Linked DNA regions of Homo sapiens: region 1 is linked to region 2. The links are contacts of gene promoters, found by promoter capture Hi-C in human tissues and cell types (Jung and others, 2019). All regions are on one chromosome and are shown on one strand. Each heading gives the region's core, a stretch centred on a gene start or on the middle of the fragment in contact. The rest is flanking DNA. Distances are from core to core; before and after follow the strand shown.

The links. Contacts are between HindIII fragments. The study calls those that stand out against the background at their distance.
Region 1: a fragment that was not itself captured here is called in contact with the fragment with the promoter of FSIP2 in region 2 in 1 of the 25 tissues and cell types used here (H1 embryonic stem cells).

Annotation. Positions count from the first base shown.
Region 1 is chr2:185,359,025-185,365,802 of GRCh38, reverse strand. No RefSeq gene overlaps it. Among named protein-coding and RNA genes, the nearest start is that of FSIP2, 380 kb to the left of the region's middle. The HindIII fragment of the contact is 4,559 bases long and covers 2,207-6,765 here.
Region 2 is chr2:185,736,786-185,742,716 of GRCh38, reverse strand. FSIP2 (fibrous sheath interacting protein 2) reads right to left here and starts at 3,913. Exons shown (of 23, transcript NM_173651.4): 1 at 3,724-3,913; 2 at 3,246-3,371. The coding sequence starts at 3,822. FSIP2-AS2 (FSIP2 antisense RNA 2) reads left to right here and starts at 2,240. Exons shown (of 3, transcript NR_110217.1): 1 at 2,240-2,338. RefSeq lists a silencer at 3,512-3,781. The HindIII fragment of the contact is 10,800 bases long and covers 1-4,533 here.

The sequences.
Region 1 (6,778 bases), core at 3,237-5,736, 380 kb after region 2:
TTGTCCTGAGTGAAAGTCTTAACTCCTGTAAAGAAAGAGCTGAAATTGTGAAAAAACACACACAAGCTATTTTTTTTTCTTTTTTTTTTTCTTTTTTTTTTGTTTGAGACGGAGTCTCACTGTGTCACCCAGCCTGGAGTGCAGTGGTGTGATCTTGGCTCATGGCAACCTCCGCCTCCCGGGCTCAAGTGATCCTCCTGCCTCAGCCTCCCCAGTAGCTTGGATTATAGGCGCCTGCCACCACACCTGGTTCATTTTTGTATTTCTAGTAGAGATGGGGTTTCGCCATGTTGGCCAGGTTGCTCTTGAACTCCTGACCTCAGGTAATCCACCCACCTTGGCTTCCCAAAGTTCTGGGATTACAGTCATGAGCCACTGCAAAATCTTTTATCATGCGAGTGACTGACCTGCAACAAAAGGTGCATGCACAGCCTCGCCAAGTGTCTACTGTTAAAGTGAGGGCATAGATTGGAAAAGAATGGGACCCTGCAACTTGTAATGGGGATATGTGGGAGGACACTGATGAAGCTGGGACATTGAGTTTGTAAACCCTGATGAAACTTTTTTACCAGAAGAAAGAGCTTCTCCATCCCCAGTAGTGGCAACATTCCCTCCCCGACCCATGCTGCCATCAGCCTTTCCACCTTTGTCTGAGGCGATAAACCCTGCGCTGCCTGAGGCAACAGTGATGGCCTCCCCTGAGGCAGTTGCCAGGCAAGATAATGTTGATTCTCCTCAGGAGCCACCCCTAACACCCATGTTTGCTTCTAGATCTATAACTAGACTAAAGTTCCTGCAGACCCCTAGAGGTGTGGTTGAGAGTGTGACCCATGAGGTGGTGTGCTACACTCAAAAAGAACTCCTTGTGTTTTTTAATTTATATAAACAGAAATCTGGAGAAAAGGCATGGGGATGGAAATTAAGGGTGTGGGATAATGGTGGAAGGAATAAAGAGTTGGGTCAGGCTGAATTTATTGATTTCGGCCCACTAAGTAGGGACGCTGCATTTAATGTTGCAGCTCAGGGAGTTAAAAAAGATTCTAATAGTTTATTTGCTTGGTTAGCTGAAATATGAATTAAAAGATGGCCCACTGTGAGCGAGCTAGAAATGCCCGATCTCCTTTGGTTTAATATAGAGGAAGGGATCCAAAGGCTTAGGGAGATTGGGAAGGTAGAGTGGATTAGTCACTTTAGACCTAATAATCCCAGCTGGGAGGGTCCAGAAGACATACACTTGACCAATGCCTTGTGAAATAGATTTTTGAGGGCAGTACCTGAATCTTTGAAGAGTCCTGTAATTGCTCTTCTCTGTATGTCAGATCTGATGGTGGGAACCGCAGTCAGCCAACTACAAAGTTTAAATACAATAGGAATAATTGGATCCCAAGGTGGCAGGGGCCAAGTGGTGGCACTGAACAGTCAAAGGCAAGGTGAGCATAACTATCATAATGAACAGCAGAGGCAAAGCAGCAATCAGAATAGTCTGATTCCTGTAGAGCTCTGGCATTGGCTAATCAATCACGGTGTTCTTAAGTGTGAAATTAATAGGAAATCTACTGCATTCCTACTTAATTTATACAAGCAGAAAATTTCTAGGTTGAATGGACAAAAAACTAATTTGAATTATAAAAACAGAGAATCATGGCTGTTCAATCAATTTCCAGACTTGAGCTAATTTACAGATCCAGAACCCCTTGAATGAAGGGGAGTCCAGCTCCCCTGGAGGAAGGACCCCACTACACTACCGACAATTTATGCAGTGAATCTTTCTCCCATCCTCCCCCAAGGAGATCTCCAGCCTTTTACCAGGGTAACTGTGTACTGAGGAAAGGGAAATGATCAGACATTTGGGGGACTACTGGACACTGGCTCTGAGCTGACGTTGATACCAGCGGACCCTAAACGTTATTGTGGTCCTCCAGTTAAAGTAGAAGCTTATGGAGGTCAGGTAATTAATGGAGTTTCAGCTCAGGTCTGACTTACAGTGCATCCAGTGGGTCCCAGACTCATCCTGTGGTCATTTCCCCAATGCCAGAATGCGTAATTGGCATAGACATACTTAGCAGCTGGCAGAATCCCCACATTGGCTCCATGACTGGTAGGGTGAGGGCTATTACAGTGGGAAAGGCCAAATGGAAGTCATTAGAGCTGCATCTACCCAGAAAAATAGTAAATCAAAAACCATATCGTATCTCTTTAGGGGTTGCAGAGATTAGTGCCACTCTAATTGGAGACAACTCCTGCTACTTCTCTCCTCCATTCTGCACCGATAGCTTCATGGGGAATTCCCTATCAACAGTTGACAGAGGAAGAGAAGACTAGGGCCTTGTACACAGATGGTTCTGCACAATACTGTGGACCCATCAAGGACTTGAAAGACACAGGGGTGGTGATTCCCACCACATCTCTATTCAACCCTCCTATTTGACCTGTCAGAAGACTGATGTATTATGGAGAATGACAGTGGATTATTTTAAGCTTAACCAAGTGGTGACTGCCATTGCAGCTGCTCTACCAGATATGGTTTCATTGCTTGACAAATTAACACATCTCCTGGTATCTGGTATGCAGCCATTGACTTGGCAAATGCCTTTTTCTCCATTCTTATCCATAAGGCCCACCAGAAGCAATTTGCCCTCAGCTGGTAAGGCCAGCAACAAATCTTTACTGTCCTACTTTGGGAGCATATCAATTCTCATGCTTTGTGTCATAATCATATTTGAAGACACCTTGATTGCTTTTTGCATCCACGGGATATCACACTGGTTCATTATATTGATGAAATTATACTGATTGGGTCCCATGAGCAAGAATTAGCAAACACACTGGACTTATTGGTGAGATATTTGTGTGCAAGAGGATGGGAAATAAATTCGACTAAAATTCAGGGACTTTCTACCTCACTGGAATTTCTACTTATCCAGGGTGTGGGAACTGTTGAGATATTTCTTCTAAGGTGAAGGATAAGTTGCTGTCGGTTTTGAGTGGGGTCCAGAACAGGAGAAGGCTCAGCAACAGGTCCAGGCTGCTGTGTAAGCTGCTCTGCCACTTGAGTCATATGACCCAGCAGATCCAATTATGCTTGAGGTGTCAGTGGCAGATAGAGATGCTGTTAGGAGCCTTTGTCAGGACCCTAGTGGTGAATCACAGGGGAGACCTCTAGGATTTTGGAACAAGGCCCTGCCATCTTCTGCAGATAACTACTCTCCTTTTGAGAGACAACTCTTGGCCTGTTACTGGGCTTTGGTGGAAACTGAACATTTGACTACGGGTCATCAAGTCACCATGCGACCTGAACTGCCTACCACGAACTGGGTGTTTTCTGACCCATCTAACCATAAAGTAGGTCATGCACAGCAGTATTCCATCATCGAATGGAAGTGGTATATACATGGTTGGGCTCGAGCAGGTCCTGAAGGCACAAGTAAGTTACATGAGGAAGTGGCTCAAATGCTCATGGTCTCCACTCCTGCCACTTCTTTCCCCCATTCTGCACCAATAGCTTCATGGGGAGTTCCCTATGAACAGTTGACAGAGGAAGAGAAGACTACGGCCTTGTACACAGATGGTTCTGCACAATATGCAGGCACCACCCGAAAGTGGACAGCTACAGCAGTACAGCCCCTTTCTAGGACATCCCTGAAGGCAGCAGTGAAGAGAAATCTTCCCAGTTGGCAGAACTTTGAGCAGTGCATCTGGTTGTGAACTTTTCATGAAAGGAATTTGCCAGCAGCAGAGAACAATACTGAGCCCTTGATATGTCACCATTCCTCAGGGTGATCAGCCAGCTACCTAGTGGCAGGTTGATTATATTGGACACTTTTCATCATGGAAAGGGCAGAGGTTTGTCCTCATTGGAATAAACACTTACTACGGGTATTGGTTTACCTATCCTGAATGCAGTGCTTCTGCCAAGTCTGCCATCCGTGGACTCATGGAATGCCTTATCCGCCATCATGGTATTCCACACAGCATTGCGTCTGACAAAGGCCCTCACTTTAAGGCTAAAGAAGTGCAGCAGTGGGCTCATGCTCATGGGATTCACTGGTCTTACCATGTTTCCCATCACCCTGAAGCAGCTGAATTGATAGAACAGTGGAATGGCCTCTTGGGGTCAGAATTACAATGCCAAGTAGGTGACAATTTTTTGCAGGCCTGGGGCAAAGTTCTCCAGAAGCCATGTATGTTCTGAATCAGTGTCCAACACATAGTACTGTTTTTCCCATAGCCAGGATTCACAGGTCCAGCAATCGAGGGGTGGAAGTGGAAGTGACACCACTCACCATCACCCCTATTTATCCATTAGCAAACTTTTTGCTTCCTGTTCCTGTGACATTACGTTCTGCCGGCCTAGGGGTCTTAGTTCCAGAGGGAGGAATGCTGCCACCAGGAGACACAACAACGATTCCATTAAACTAGAAGTTGAGATTGCAACCTGGACACTTTGGCCTCCTCCTACCTTTAAGTCAATAGGCCAAGAAGGGAGTTACAGTGTTGGTTGGGGTTATTGACCCGGACTATCAAGATGAAATCAGTCTACCTCTCCCCAACAGAGGTAAGGAAGAGTATGCATGGAATACAGGAGATTCATTAGGGTGTCTCTTAGTATTACCATGCCCTGTAATTAAGGTCAATGGGAATCTACAACAGCCCAATCCAGGCAGGACTACAAGTTACCCAGTCCCTTCTGGAATGAAGTTTTGGGTCACTCCACCAGGAAAAATACCACAACCTGTTGAGGTGCTTGCTGAAGGCAAAGGGAATACAGAATGGGTAATAGAATGTAGTTATCGACACCAGCTGCAATTACATGAGCAGCTGCAGAAACAATGACTGTAACTGTTGTATTTCCTCATTCTTTTGTTAAAAACATGTATGTGCATGTATACACTTGTACTAAGAAAATATTTTCAATTTATTTCTTTTCTCCTTTATCATGTGACGTAAGATTTATTGACTCTACATCAACATTTAAGTATTATTAACTTTATATAATAATATTTGGGCTACGGATTGGTGCATTTCCAGTTGTATGAAAGACAGTTGTATTATATTAGGGGTAGTTATGACCTTATTATTGTCCTTATTTGAAGATTACATATGACTTCAAGTTTATGGATTCAAGTTGACAAGAGGTGGACTTGTGATAGTTAATACTGAGTGTCAACTTGATTGGATTAAAGGATACAAAGTATTGATCCTGGGTGTATTTGTGAGGGTGTTGCCAAAGGAGAGTAACATTTGAGTCAGTGGGCTGGGAAAGGCAGACCCACTCTTAATTTGGGTGGGCACAATCTAATCAACTGCTAGCATGGCTAGACTATAAGCAGGCATGGTCTGAGTTAATATTTAATAAACTCCCCTTTATATATATATATATAACAGCTCTCTCAAGCCCTGAAGCAGATTGCTGCAGCACCAACTGACATTGCATCAAAGAGAAGAAATATCCAACTGTGTCCAGACAGCCCACACATTTGTTAAATGTAATAGAATTTTTGTTTTCTAATGACACTGAGTTTTGGAAGAATTTATTATACAACATCAGGTAACTAAAATATGTCATTTGTATTGCCCTCCCCCCTTTTTTTTGACAGAGTCTTGCTCTGTCACCAGGCTGGAGTGTAGTGGCACAATCTTGGCTCATTCTGCAACCTCTGCCTCCTGGGTTCAAGTGATTCTCATGTCTCAGCCCCCTGAATAGCTGGGACTACAGGCACGTGCCACTATGCCCAGCTAATTTTTTTTTATTTTTAGTAGAAACGGGGTTTCACCATGTTGGCCAGGGTGGTCTTGATCTCTTGACTTCGTGATCCACCCGCCTCAGCTTCCCAAAGTGCTGGGATTACAGGAGTGAGCCACACCGCCTGGCTATCTATAATACTTCTCAGAAGCCTGTAACATGATAGGCACTCAAAAGCTGATGAAAAAAATGGATGGAAGAAGGAATATATAAACGTGTTCAAGATTATCAAAAAGTATATGCTGAAGAGGCAGGGATAATTTCATGATTTAAAACAGGATTTCTCAAGATGGGTTTCAACGACAATATAAATCATAAACATCTAACATCAAAAGATAATTTGTTTACAATTTGCATCACTCATTTGCATTCAAGACTTGGTAAATCTGTGGGGGAGAAATTAAAGTATTTGCTTGAATTTTGTTTTCTTATCAAGATTCAGTGACATTCGTGCATGACAATGAAATTCATTGCTAGTGCATTTGTATACAAACATACATGCATACACATCTAGATAAAAACACATAGAAAATAAGTGGTGGAATCACTGCATTTATTTGGTTAATCAAAGCAAAACTGGCTTCTGCCTCAATCTAGTTATTTCAGCTAAATTATTTTACTTGCTGAAGTAAATATGGCTTATTCCCACTTTGAAATAAATTATCTTCATATCTGTAAAATCATTCTTTCCAAATTAATTTAGTGTAATGCTAAAAGGTTTCAATTATCACAGTTGCTCCAGAAAAATCATATGTATATTTACAACAATTTAATCAATTGTGATATTGCATTCTTTCACTTGAGAAAATTTCCTGTAAGTGCTCACGGATTGTCTTGCAATTAAATAAAGTGCATTTTGTAATGTCATTTTCAAATATATATTTACATTTTAATAAAATAGGTCAGATTCATTGGTTTTCTTTCATTGTTTGTTATTTTCTGTATTTCTCAGTTACAACCTAAAATATAGGTTGACTTTCAAATTTGATTAAATTTAGAGGAAAAATTTTAAGATAATTTATTTCATTTCCTATT
Region 2 (5,931 bases), core at 2,664-5,163:
CAATCATCTTAAAATGAACAAAAATAACAAAATGTTTCATCAAAATTTATGAAAATAACTTTAACAAATAGTAGAAGTAAAACTTAGATGTTAACGATTTTGAGTTAAAGAGTCATTGCATCTTGAGGTTTTTAATGCAAGGAACCAACAATCTCTGAGTGCTAGAGTAAGAAGAATACCTGAGGTCTATATTATGCAGTTCACCTTATTAAAGAACCAATTTTAAAGAATATTTATAGAAATTGAAGTTTTTCTATTTGTGTGAAGACCAAATACACCTTTAGGCAACAGCCATTAACATATAAAAGGAGGAAAAGATAATCAGTTTCTAGTCATGTTTCTTATATCTGCTGCATTAGAGAAAACAGCTGAGTTATTCAATCTCACCATGAATTAAAACATTAGCAAAGTGAGTTTTTTGGTGTGAGTTCTCAGTTTTTCAATAGCAAGATGGTGATAATGGCTTATTGGGGGACCTCTGAAATGGAAAAAGTAGAGAATAAGAGTAGGAAGTTGTGTTAAGGCTGTTTTTACATCTCTTCTTTCTGTTTTAAGTTTGCTGGGCCAGAAAAACTAAGTTTTATAATAGCTCAAAATATGTTAAATCAGGCACTGGCTCAGGAGACAGATAATTGGAGTATGTAGGTAATATGGGAAACCAGAGAGCACCTGCCCTATTTGCAGGCATGAAATTCAATTTATACTACCACAACAACACTAAGCACCAATCCCGACATGTCTAGAGGCACCAATTTGGGTCCTCTGTTTCCAGTCTGGCCGTAACCACAGTTGCAGTCCAATTCCTGAACACTATGGAGTCTGGCTGGGTTGGACCCTAATAAGAACTCTCGAAAGGTAGGTAGGAGAATGCTTTGCATATGGGTAAAAGGTAGATGAGAGGAACAAAATAAGATACTAGCTCTTCCTTTGCATTTAAAAGCTTCTTTAAGTTTCTGACCTCTTGTTTAACATTAAACTTTAATTCCTTCCAAGGAGCCTAATCAGAAAGCTAGATTCCCTGGTTACCAATGCTTTCCTGAGAAGGCAAAGAAAGAACTCGTAAAGGGGAGAGTCTTGAATTCAGTGAATCCACATATGAAGCCCAGATCTTTCCTGGAAGGGAAACGATCAATAATAATAAGTCAAGGAGTAGATTGAATATTTCTTTCAGATGTTGACATTTAGCTGTAAACTTTTAAAAAATGTTAACTTTTAGCTGTGACAGGCATATGTTTCTCAAGACCAAACCTGAGCTCCTGACCTGTAAACTAAGAACACTTTTAAACAAATCCACCCATTTGAGCCAGAGTAACTTTTCTATTGACAATTAAAATAACTGGTTGCCCTTAAAAGGTGACTATTAACCATTACCTCATGAAGGAGAGTACACTGAAAGAGAAAATTCTTCTGAGAAATTATATGGTGACTAATTTCATTAAATGAATAAATTTTGGGAGAATTAATGTAATAAAAAATAGAACATCTTTTTGAAAAGTAGTAGACAAGTGAATTAATGGTCGACAGAGAAAATGGCAATAGAGTAAAATAATATATTTAAGGGAGGAGACAAAAGCCACAGTTCTAAGTTTATGCACTAAAGAGGAATTATATCACCTGTAATGGAATAAATTTCAAGCACGTTTTTGCAAAGTTAGTTTGTGTGGATGTGACTCAAGTTGTGTGAAGTTGGTATATTTGTAGTTCACTTGCTCTAATCTAGTAGAACAGATTAGTTTTTTTTAAAGAGCAATTATACTTTTTTTCAGAAACAAAACTTGTTTTAAGAAATCATGTTTATTTAGTGTGTTAGATTGACTGTATGCCCCCAAAATTCATATGCAATCCTAATCTTCAGTGTGATGGCATTAGGAGCTGGGGCCTTGGGGGATAATTAAGTCATGAGGGTGGAGTCCTCATCAAGGGAGATAATGTTCCTATAGAGACCACAGGGAACTCTCCAGCCTTCTTTCTACCATGCAGGGAGGTAATAATGAAAGGACTTCAAAGGACCCCCACGAGAATCTGACCATGCTGGTGTCCTGATCTTGGACTTCCAGCTCCAGAACAATGATAAATAAATTTACGTTATTTCTAAGCCACCCAGTCTATGGTACATTGTTATAACAGCCTGAACTGTATAAGACATTAAGCAAGTATCAAATACCAAGGGGTTCTATTTATTTCTGATGACATCATAGACATTAGAAGGGTAAGTGGGCCACTTAGAATTCTTTCTTGTAGAACTTTTTGCAAAACTGATAAAAGCAACCAGTCAACAAGAATGTACTAAACCTCCTTCAGCATTGACTACTTAGTCAAAGGCTGGGGAGGTTTGGGGGTAGGTGTGGTGTTAAGGACTAAAAACATGAAAAGGCTTAAGGGAAGTACACACTATAATCCAGTATGATTAACTATGGTTTGTGTAAGTGAGATCACACAAATCAAGGGCAACGTGAACTCTAAGCAAAAATAAGCTAACGGGGGGGCTATCACAGTTCAGAGAATCTTGATAGCTCAGATTCATAGACTGGGGAGAAGAAGACAAGGTATGCCAGGTTTGGGGGCAAAGTTGACAAAATACTGAAGTATTAGCATGGTATTTATGGGTAGGTGTGAAAGACTCAACTTGAAGAAGCTGAGCCTCTCTGGTTGGAGACAATGCTGGATGGAAAGGCTGGGGCAAATTATGGAGTCTCTTCCTCATTGAGGCAGGGCTTTCTTTCATTAAAGTAAGGTTAAAGTACTAAACATATTAACTCATTTTAAGTCCCACTGTTTCAGTTCTTTTTTTTTTCTTTATGTGTAAAATAGAATTCAACTCAAAACAAAATAATGTTTCCCGTGAAGAGAGTTTGGTCCAAGATACTGTCAGTTAAAATCGTAACATATCATTAAATGGCAGCTATCACTAATAACCTTTCAGCTTCTAAACATGTTTCTAAGTACATCAAATCTTACTATATAAGTATATATGAAGTTTTATTATAAGGAATATTAATATGGTACCGTGAATTGTTAATTAAGGACTAAGAATCTAAACTTTCTGGAATATGATTATGTCCAAACCATTAAGATGAAAGTGCTTCATATGCATTCTAAACAATACCTTCGGTCAGATGTGGGATTTTCTTTTTCCTGTAAATGTTGATGCAAATTCCTTTAATGAATTTTGTATGATGCAGCCTTTGAGTTAAACAGCAAGTAGTAAAGGGTAAAGGAAAGAAAGACGATAAAAACTTGTTCACCTTTTCACCGAAATTCGTAGTATAGAATACAGCATTGCTTCCTGGGATCACAGGCAGCTTGACCCCGAGAGGTAGGTCCAGTAGCTGAGCCGGTCCAACCCCTGCAAAGTGGGTTTTGTGCACGCCCTGTCAGACACAATTGGAGAGTTTTGTCTTTCCTTTTAGGCAGTATTAGTTTAGTTTAGACCAATCTACTTCCATTGCAACCAAAGACTCCGAAGAATTATACAATCAGGGTTCGGGGCATCCTGAAGTCCTCCCGTTTTCCCTGGTCACCAGCTCTCCTGGCGTCCCGCGCCTGCCAGTTGCGGCCGGTACAGTCCGAGCCACCGCCACCGCCCCCGGGCGCCGCAAGAGGGCAGCCTCCTGACGGGGGACAGTTGGGAGCCTCGCGACCCGTGTGTGGCGATCCCTGCCCCGCTCCCCAGCAGGCCTGCGGCCGCCAGAGGGCGACGCCGCCCAGCTTGCGGCCACTCACGTCTCTGCACTGCTGGGTGTCCGCGGCCAGGACGCTGGCGACCGTCTTGGTGACGGCGACTTTGGCAGGCTTGGAGCAGGCGCCGAGGTACAGCTCCATGGCCGGCACAGCCCCCTCAGCCCCTTCCTCACCCGCCCCGCTCTCCTTCTCTAGCACCCCGTTGTCCCTCTGTCCGGACCTGACCAGGAATGGCCAGAGCCCAACGACCTCAGCCCCGCCCCCCGCGTTCCAGGCTTCCAATGGTAGCGGCCCCAGAAGGGCGGTGGCCTCCTGAGGGGCGGCTCGCGCCAGCGCGTAGAGCGCCCGCAGAGCTGGGAAAATCGGTCCGAGAGGCCTGATCTGAGAGGACCACAGTTGAAACTTCATCTTTCTCTGAAACCATCACGCCTTAGCCAATCCTAACGAAAACGTATAAGCTTTGTTGGTGGGTAACTGGTTAATTTCCCCTGGCTTCCAAGGAGCCCTGTTCCGTTCAATAAAAATTCCCGAGTGATTGTTTTTGCCCATTCTACATCTTCCCCCATATAGACCACACCCCATCCCCAGGCTCCCACAGCTTCTTCCCACACCAGGTCCACAAGGCAGACGCGTTGGCTTCCTAAGGGGCTCATTGCCTTCCTCCTGCCTCTTCTGTCCCCTAGGTTTCCTTCTCCTTTCTAGCGCCCTTTACCACTCTCCCACTGCCTCCTCTCTGCTCCTGCAGCTTGATCCTATTTCCCTCTTTCTCCTCAACCATCCAGCCGAAATTTATAAAGTGCTTGACGCTTCTGGGCCAGTCATTGAGCTAAGCACTGGGCAGGACACAGCCGTGAGTAAAATATGGCCCCTGACTGTAAGAAGCTAACTAGACTGGGAGTATTCTGAGGGCAGAGACAGTATGTGTCTAACCCACCTGTTGTTTAGACTTAACTTCATACTTTCTTTGGTCCACTGCTGTTCTCTTTTATTTCTGGCCCGACTAGTAATAACAGTTACCATTTCTTCAGAATCTACTAACTTCCATATACTGTGCCAAACACCCTTTTAAACATTTATTTATTTTAGTAGCCTTATCAATAATTACTCTTTATTTTTCAAAGATTGAGGAAGACTGACAATTGCTGTTAAATGGTGGCTCCTGAGGCTGTTTTCTTAATCAGTGCACTCTGCTCTCTTTGTTGTAATTCCACACATGTGCTTAGGACTCTTAAATTTGAAATCTAAGCTTGGGATATAGTCTATTGCCAGCTTCCATATGGATATCCCACAATTGTCTTAAATTCAATCTACTCAAATCTCAACACACAACTTTCACCAAAACAGGAAAAAAAAACAAAGGCTTCTTCCTGCATTTCCTATCTCAGTGACAATACCAAAGTCTACCCAAGCCAGAAACTAAGGAATGCTTCTAGATACTTCTTTTTCCCCTTATCTCCCATGTTTAGTTGGTCCCCAAGTCCCACTAATTTTATCACTAAAATTAATTTGCCCGATTCTATCTACTCCTACTTTACTCTCCCGGTTAAGCCGCTAATCATTTTTTGTTTGTTTGTTTGTTTGCACCATTGCCACAGCCTTATAACATCTCCCTGCCACCATCTACCCCAAAAATCCATCTTGTATCAATTTGATCTTTGATGGCAAACTGACCATTTCTCTTCCTCACTTTAAACTCCCAACTGCCCTCAGCGCAAAGTGTGTAATGGCCTCTGTTACTTGGTCTCTGTATCAGTTTCTTATTGCCAGCAAATCACCACAAACTTAGTGGCTTAAATTACCACAAATATATTACCTTACAGTGATGGAGGTTAGTAATCCAAAGAGAATCTCACTGGGCAGAAACCAGTGTATTGGAAGTGCTGTGTTCTTTCTGGAAGCTCTAGATCACAACCTATGTTCTTGCCCTTTCCAGCTTCTAGAAGTTGCCTCTTCCTCACACGTTAAATCTGGCAATGTAACATCTTCAAACCTCTCTCTGACTCAGACCTCTGCTCCTTCTCTTCTACAATTAAAGAATCATTGTGATTACATTGGGCCCATCTAGGTTATCCATGCTAATTTATCTATCTTAAGATCAGCTGATTAGCAACCTTAATTCCATTAGCAATCTTAATTCCTCTTTGCTATGAAATATTCACATACTCAGTCTTGAAAATGAGGACATAGACATCTTTGGGGTACTATTATACTACCTCTCACAGCCCTGTTTTTGTCCATCTCTGAGACATA